Linked DNA regions of Homo sapiens: region 2 is linked to region 1. Evidence: promoter capture Hi-C in human tissues and cell types (Jung and others, 2019). All regions are on one chromosome and are shown on one strand. Each heading gives the region's core, a stretch centred on a gene start or on the middle of the fragment in contact. The rest is flanking DNA. Distances are from core to core; before and after follow the strand shown.

Evidence for each region. Contacts are between HindIII fragments. The study calls those that stand out against the background at their distance.
Region 2: a contact is called between a fragment that was not itself captured here and the fragment with the promoter of ZNF670 in region 1, in 1 of the 25 tissues and cell types used here (bladder).

The regions. Positions count from the first base shown.
Region 1 is chr1:247,076,206-247,080,280 of GRCh38, reverse strand. ZNF670 (zinc finger protein 670) reads left to right here and starts at 1,470. Exons shown (of 4, transcript NM_033213.5): 1 at 1,470-1,687. The coding sequence starts at 1,685. ZNF670-ZNF695 (ZNF670-ZNF695 readthrough (NMD candidate)) reads left to right here and starts at 1,470. Exons shown (of 7, transcript NR_037894.2): 1 at 1,470-1,687. RefSeq lists silencers at 1,436-1,505, 1,294-1,607. The HindIII fragment of the contact is 11,562 bases long and covers 1-4,075 here.
Region 2 is chr1:247,365,829-247,369,983 of GRCh38, reverse strand. All of the region lies in intron 1 of ZNF496-DT (ZNF496 divergent transcript), which reads right to left. Among named protein-coding and RNA genes, the nearest start is that of ZNF496-DT, 36 kb to the right of the region's middle. The HindIII fragment of the contact is 9,484 bases long and covers 1-4,155 here.

The sequences.
Region 1 (4,075 bases), core at 221-2,720:
TTGAGCTCAAAAAATAGATACAGACTGCAGTGTATGGAATCTCATTAAATACACAAAAAATAAGGTTAGAAAAAAGTCACTCACATTTTTTTTGTTTGCTGAGGCCACGCCGTCATTGTTATGACAATTGATTAAAGGGAGAATCAAGCTTTTATTCTTCCTTTCCTAATAGGGTAGGTTTTAATGTAATGGAGAGAGTTCATGAGAAAACGCCATTTTTAATAGAAGAATGAGAACTAATACCTGTAGAGAAAATAATTAGAAAACCACTATTTGGCAACTCTCACTGAGATAAGTGAAATTAAGAAATAGTAATCAATAAATAATGAACAGTTACATGAAAGGAACAGGCAGACATTCCCGAACAACCTTAAAATAAAGTGGTAAAACCAGACACGTGTATCCAAATGTGCAGGCTGAATTGAAACATGCTGGAAGCTTAATATATAGAGTGATTTTTCATTAATAATATATCGATTGTAAGGCCGTCTGAGCAGGCTGCGCCATGGTCAAGCCATTGTGATCCCTGTGACCCACACGTGTACATCCAGAAGGTCCTGGAGCCAGAAAGTCTGGGACAACAGGAAAACCACAAAGGAAGAAAAACGGCTAGTTTCTGTCTTAGCTGATTAGCCAACCTTGCAGCATTTTACCGTTGTGACGTGCACTACCCTAACTGATCAATCAGCCTAGTGACACTGTGACCCCTCCCTCTTGTGACAATGTACTTTGTGACATTCTTCCCCCGCCGGTAATAAACGGCCCCTGACTGTAACTTTCCACTGCTTACCCCTCACCTATAAAACTAACTCCAATCCCACGACCCTCCGCTGACCCTCTTTTCGGACTCAGCCCGCTCGCACCCGAGTGAGTAAACTAGCCTTGCTGCTCACACTTAACCTGTTTGGGTAGTCTCTTCAATTAGGCGCGAGCTTAACATCGATCATATATTGAAACAATATTTTTGGATATATTTGGTTAAATAAATCATTGTAATCAATTTCACGTGTTGTTTTCTTTTCTATTGCTACTGGAACACACGCGGCTCACATTTTATTTCTATGGGGCGTTGCTACCTGAGAGGACATTGTCTTTTCAAAATTCAAGCTGCCTCTAATCCCACTAGAAGCAAGAAAAAAAAAAAAATTCAGGCTGCCTCCTCAAAAGACCAGAGGCCAGGAAGGTTGTGAAATCTGAAATTTTAGAATAATTGTCATCATAGTGTTTCCAATTGTAAATATCACAAATATTACTCATAAATGGACATAATCCTGTGTATGAGCTTGAATGGGAAAGTCCCCCGGGGGGCGCCAGGTCTCAGCACAGGGCAGAATCCATGCCTTAGAAAAGGACTGCAGGGAAAGAACCTGGCCTCACTCAGCGCCGTGTCTGATTGCATCTCCCGTCACTCAGGACTGAAGGGGCGGGGCCTAAGGCCCTGTCCAATCGGGCGCTGGGAAGGGGACTGTACTCTCAAGCGCGCCGCGAAAGGAGGGAGCAGCTTCCGGGACCTGGCGCGGCTTTTGTGTTGGGCAGCGCGAATGTGGCGAGCTCGGTGCGTCTCCGCTGCTCCTTCCCCTTATCCCTGGGAGGTCCAAGTGGTCCCGCGGCAGCTTCTGTTGCTCTGGGACCTGCAGGTCCCGGAAGGTCCTTAGGGAGGACCCCAGACACCGGAGACTGGGAAATGGTGAGTGTGCCGGCCAGGTGTCTCGGGAAGGGGAAAAGGGAACCGCCAGGAAGCGGTTGTGGCGAACCCGGACCTCCCCGCGGTGCCGACCCGAGTTTCCGCCGGCGCCTCGCGGCCTTAGTGGCACAGGATGCGGGGCTGGACCCGCAGCCAGACCCCGGGCCGCCTGGCTTGTCCCTGCCCCGCCGCTTCGGCCAGGCCCGGAACCCTTTCTGGGCAGCTCTGCCTCTGTAGACCCGCATCTCCCTCGGATCGTGCGGTGCCGACGGGAGGGTCCTCAGGGGAGAGTCCCGACTTGGGGTTCGGGGTTCCTGCGTGGGAGGAGCTGTGGTCTGTGAAGTCTCCAAATCCTCCTTTCTCCTGTTAGAAAGAAAACTGAGGCGCCGTTAAAATATTAAGGAGTTTATTTGAGCAGAGAGTCGTGAGTTAGGAAGCCACCAGCGTGGTTTGTGGTTTGGGGAAGGAAAGGGTTTTTTGTAAGGAACCCGAGGAAGCAAACCCAATTAAATAATTGATCGTGTACAGTTATGTAGTCACCCCATATAGACTGTGCAGCCAGATATCTCCTGGTTATGTAACCAGAGGTTAATTGGTGGGTTCGTGGTTGTTTAAGGCTGTTTTGTTTCCCTTTAAGTTATTAATTTACAAGACAAGCATGAGTTACGTTTTGGTTGGTTGTTTATTCATTCATGTGTGTATGTACATGTGTATGATGGAGTCTTGGACTCGGGCTCAAGCGATCCCCCCACCTCAGTCTCCCTAGTGCCTGTGTTTAATTATTTTCACATAACACTCCACATTTCTAAGTGTATGGCAACAGGATCTCACATCAACGACCCTGTTCCCACAGCCTAACTCTTCTGGGGCTTGTAGTAAAACCCTAAATTTCCAATTCTTTTCCTATATTCAAATGCAACATTATCAAGTATTTGTCTTTTATTGTACATTTCATACAGATGAAGTGTGTTATTTTTTTCAGAGTAGTGAGTCGTTCTGAAAATATTTGTTTTCACTCTTAAAATATTTCTGAACATTACACATGAGTGGAAAGCAGAAAATAATCACCTGACAGTTAATTGTAGAAAAAAAAAGTCTTTGTGCATCTCCTAATTTTATCTTTTTTGAGTGTGCACATCTTACCAGAGTATCTTTGGGGTGAAGTTCCCTTTTGGAAACTTTAGAGGGTGATATGTCCTCAGCCACCCTTATATCTTTTCTTGGTCCTCTGTTTAGCAGCCAGATCTCTTGGAGTGTCTAATGAATACCTTCTCCTGGGTCATCTCCTCACAGAGGACAGTTTAAAATATGGAAGTAGAGCCTCTCCAGGCAGCATCTGGGTGCCCTGGAGTTGAGAGACGTCTCCTAGTATACTCTTCGTTTAAAAAACAAATCCCTGGTGCATTGGGATTTTCTTCCTCCAACCCCAGTTTTCATCATTCCTTGGAGACACGTTGGTGGCAGCCAGTCAGATGCTGGTATTAAGGGAAAAATCTAGAAATGATTCCTGCGCTCTGGATTTTCTCGGACTTGGGAAAGGAGAAAAACTATCTCAAAGGACAAGGAATACCCACCCCAGTGAGGTGGTGCAAGAACCAGAAAAGCACCATCATCAGAATTATGTAAGAAGAGAGTTGGCTGGGCGTGGTGGCCCACGCCTGTAATCCCAGCATTTTGGGAGGCCAAGGGAGGCAGATCACTTGAGGTCAGGAGTTTGAGACCAGCCTTGCCAGTATGGCAAAACACTGTCTCTACTAAAAATACAAAAATTAGCCCAGTCTGGTGGTGCATGCCTGTAATCCCAGCTACTCAGGAGGCTGAGGCAGGAGAATCGCTTGAGGCCAGGAGGTGGAGGTTGCAGTGAGCTGAGATGGTGCCACTGCACTCCAGCCTGGGTGACAGAGGGAGACTCAGTTTGAAAAAGAAAAAAAAAAAAAAGAGAGTTTATTCTAAAGTATTGCAATGGGGAAAAACACCAGGTATAAGAGCTGCAAGCATGTTAAAGTTTAGGCAGAAAAGGGCTTAGAAATTCAGGCACACAGGCCAGGTGCGGTGGCTCACGCCTGTAATCCCAACACTTTGGGAGGCCGAGGCGGGCGGATCACGAGGTCAGGAGATCGAGATCATCCTGGCTAATGTGATGAAACCCCATCTCTACTAAAAATACAAAAAATTAGCCGGGCATGGTGGCGGGCGCCTGTAGTCCCAGCTACTCAGGAGGCTGAGGCAGGAGAATGGCGTGAACCTAGGAGGCAGAGCTTGCAGTGAGCTGAGATCACGCCACTGCACTCCAGCCTGGGTGACAGAGCAAGACTCCGTCCCAAAAAAAAAAAAAAAATTCAAGCACACAGTGGGGCACAGTACAGTGTCTCCTGGGAGGGTGGTCATTGA
Region 2 (4,155 bases), core at 213-2,712, 290 kb before region 1:
GTAATCCCAGCACTTTGGGAGGTCCAGGCAGAAGGATCACGAGATCAGGAGATGGAGACCATCCTGGCCAACATGGTGAAACCCCGTCTCTACTAAAAATACAAAAATTAGCTGGGCGTAATGGCGCATGCCTGCAGTCCCAGCTACTCAGAAGGCTGAGGCAGGAGAATCACTTGAACCAGGGAGTCGGAGGTTGCAGTGAGTGGAGATCGCGCCACTGCACTCTAGCCTGGCGACAAAGGGAGACTCCGTCTTAAAAAAAAAAAAAAAAAGCCAGTGGCACAGTAATCATTCTCCTACAATTACCCATGCTATGTGAGTTAAAATAAAATTTTGTATGCTTATCTCCCTGTTAATCTGCCTATTGTCAGTTGATTTTGCAGCAAAACTTCAGAGAGTGAAGCAGCTTTCTCTTGGCCCCTACAGATTTGGCGCTGTGAGCAGGATCACCAAAACTGTTTAGCTCTTCTGAAGCCAGGAGTCCAAGGAACCTGGGGCCTGACAGGCCAGCAGAAGGGGAAGAATTTGGGAGTAGTTAGATTCTTGGCATCTGTAAAAAGTAAAGTAGAGGTTCCTCTTCAAAGACTTTCCTCCCCATCTAATTAGGAATAAATAGTAACTTCTATTAGAAGCAAAATTTATTCAAAGACCTGTGCTAACATTCTTAAATATCTGCTAGCCGTAATAAAGAAATCAATGTTCTTTATGTTCTTAGCTCCCACAATTTAGCCTAAATATCTGCCCTGGCATGCTTATACTGGTCCAAGTAAGCATTAGGTCACAGCCTGTTCCTCTTCCTTATTTGAAGGTGTTTTTACCTTTCTCAGCATTCCACCAGTTACTTCCTCTTTCCTTTGTTCCCCTCTACCTTTGCCTCTTTTAAAAAGTTCTAAGTTGCTAGCCAATCGAGACAAATACAGAATGTGAGGTCCCGCTCCAGCCAGTGGAAACCAGACACAGCAGTAGGGAGGACGCGTCAGGTTATAAATGACCCTGTCTCCTTTGTTCAATGCACTCTCATGGCAAAACTGCTGATGAGTGTACCCTTTCTGCAAGAAGTAAAAATGGCCTTACTAAATAAATTAAATTCATGTTCAAGTGCTATTTCTTTACCGCACCAAGGAAGAAACATTTCAAACAGCATCTGTCTGTGCAATCCAATCAAGCAGACAGTAAAACTGTTTCCTTTTCCTTTTCCAAATTTAAGATAAATGGAAAGAAAGAATTTATTTATTTATTTAGAATCAGCTCTGTTGCCCAGGCTGGAGTGCAGCGGGACAGTCATGGCTCACTGCAGACTTAACCTCCTGGACTCGAGGGATCCTCCTGCCTCAGCTTCCTGTGTAGCTGGGACCATAGGTGCACTCCACCATTCCCTGCTAACTTTTTGATTTTTTTGTAGAGATGGAGTCTCAGTTGTTGAGGCTGGCCTCAAACTCCTGTGTTACTGGAAAGGGGTCCCAATCTAGACCCCAAGAGAGGGTTACTGGACCTCCCACAAGAAAGAATACAGGGCGAGTCCATAGAGTAAAGTAAAAGCAAGTTTATTAGGGAAGTAAAAGAAACAAAAGAATGGCTACTGCATAGGTACAGCCGTGGTGTGAGCTGCTCAACCGAGTATACCTACAGTTATTTCTTGATTGTATGCTAAACAAGGGGTGAATTATTCATGAGTTTTCCGGGAAAGAGGACTGGATTTCCAGGAACTGAGGGTTCCTCCCCACTTTCAGACCATATAGGGTAACTTCTGGATGTTGCCATGGTATTTGTAAACTGTGGTGGTGCTGGTGGGAGTGTCTTTTAACACGCTAATGCCTTATAATAAGTATCACATAATGAGCAGTGAGGATTACCAGAGGTCACTTTCATCAGCATCCTGGTTCTGGTGGGTTTTGGCCGGCTTCTTTACCACATCCTGCTTTATCAGTGGGGTTGTTGTGACCTGTATCTTGTGCTGACCTCCTAACTCATCCTGTGACTAAGAATGCCTAAGCTCCTGGGAGCCCAGCAGTTCTCAGCTTTTTTTTACCCAGCCCATCTTCAAGATGGAGTCCCTCTTGTTCAAATATATCTGACATCTGGACTCAAGGAATCCTCCTGCCTTGGCCTCCCAAAGTACTGGAATTACAGGGTGAGCCACTGCACCCAGCCAAGAAAAGCATTTATACAGGCTAATTTTAGACACACAAACGCTGGTTTATTTTTGGTATGACTATTTCATGTTGTCTGATCTTTTTCCTTTCAGAAACATTCTTTTTTTTCCTGTGTCTCTGTCTTGCTGTCATAAAGATTCCCTCTCATCTTGCTTAATATCTTTTATGTCAGGCTCTCAAGAGCCTGACTTGTGACCAAGTGGGGAGCACTCTTGCTTGGTCTCTACCAACCCGGGGAGTGGTTGGGGGAGTGGCATGACTTTTGGGACTTTTGGGTCATGTGTGTTGGTCAGTTGTATTAGTCCATTTTCACTCTGCTTACAAAGACATACCCAAGACTGGGAAGAAAAAGAGGTTTAATTGGACTTACAGTTCCACATGGGCTGGGGAAGCCTCAGAATCATGGCAAAGGGCAAAAGCCACTTCTTACATGGCAGCAGCAAGAGAAAATGAGGAAGAAGCAAAAGTAGAAACCCCTGATAAATCCATCAGATCTTGTGAGACTTATTCACTATCACGAGAATAGCATTGAAAAGACCAGCCCCCGTGATTCAATTACTTCCCCTTGGGTCCCTCCCACAACATGTGGGAAATCTGAGAGGTACAATTCAAGTTAAGATTTGGGTAGAGGCATGGCAAAACCATATCATTCCACCCCTGGTGGCTCCAAATCTCATGTCCTCACATTTCAAAACCAATCATGCCTTCCCAACAGTCCCCCAAAGTCTTAACTCATTTCAGCATTAACCCAAAAGTCCATAGTCCAAAGCCTCATCTGAGAAAAGGAAAGTCCCTTCCACCTATGAGCCTGTAAAATCAAAAGTCAACTGGTTACTTCCTAGATACAATGGGGGTACTGGTATTGGGTGAATACAGCCGTTCCAAATGGGGGAAATTGGCCAAAACAAAGGGGTTACAGGGCCCATTCAAGTCTGAAATCCAGCAAGGCAGTCAAATTTTAAAGCTCCCAAAATGATCTCCTTTGACTCCAGGTCTCACATCCAGGTCACACTACTGCAAGTGGTGGGTTCCCATGGTCTTGGGCAGCTCTGCCTCTGTGGCTTTGCAGGATACAGCCTCCCTCCCGGCTGCTTTCATAGGATGGTGTTGAGTGTCTGCAGCTTTTCCAGGTGCATGGTGGAAGGTGTTGGTGGATCTAGCATTCTGAGGTCTGGAGGATGGTAGCCCTTTTCTCACAGCTTCACTAGGTGGTGCCCCAGTAGGGACTCTGTGTGGGGGCTCCCACCCCACATTTCCCTTCTGCATTGCCCTAGCATAGGTTCTCCATCGGGGCCCCACCCCTGCAGCAAACTTCTGCCTGGGCATCCAGGCATTTCCATATGCCCTTTGAAATCTAGGCAGAGGTTCTCAAACCTCAATTCTTGACTTCTGTGCACCCACAGGCTCAACACCACATGGAAGCTGCCAAAGCTTGGGGCTTCCACCCTCTTCTACCCTCTGAAGCCACAGCCTGAGCTGTACATTGGTCTCTTTCAGCTGGGACACAGGGCACCAAGTCCCCAGGCTGCACACAGCCTGGAGACACTGGGCCTAGCCCACAAAACCACTTTTTCCTCTGGGCCTCCAGGCCTGTGATGGGAGGGGCTGCCATAAAGGTCTCTGACATGGCCTGGAGACATTTTCCCCATGGTCTTGGGGATTAACATTAGGCTCCTTGCTACTTACTTGCAAATTTCTGTAGCCAGCTTGAATTTCTCCCCAGAAAATGGGTTTTTCTTTTCTCTTACATTGTCAGGCCACGAATTTTCCAAACTTTCATGCTCTGTTTCCCTTTTAAAACTGAAGGCTTTTAGCAGCACCCAAGTCACCTCTGGAATGCTTTGCTGCTTAGAAATTTTTTCCATCAGATACCCTAAACCATCTCTCTCAAGTTCAAAGTTCCACAAATCTCTAGGGCAGGGGCAAAGTGCCTTCATTCTCTTTGCTAAAACATAACAAGAGTCAGCCAGACTCGGTGGCTCACGCCTGTAATCCCTGCACT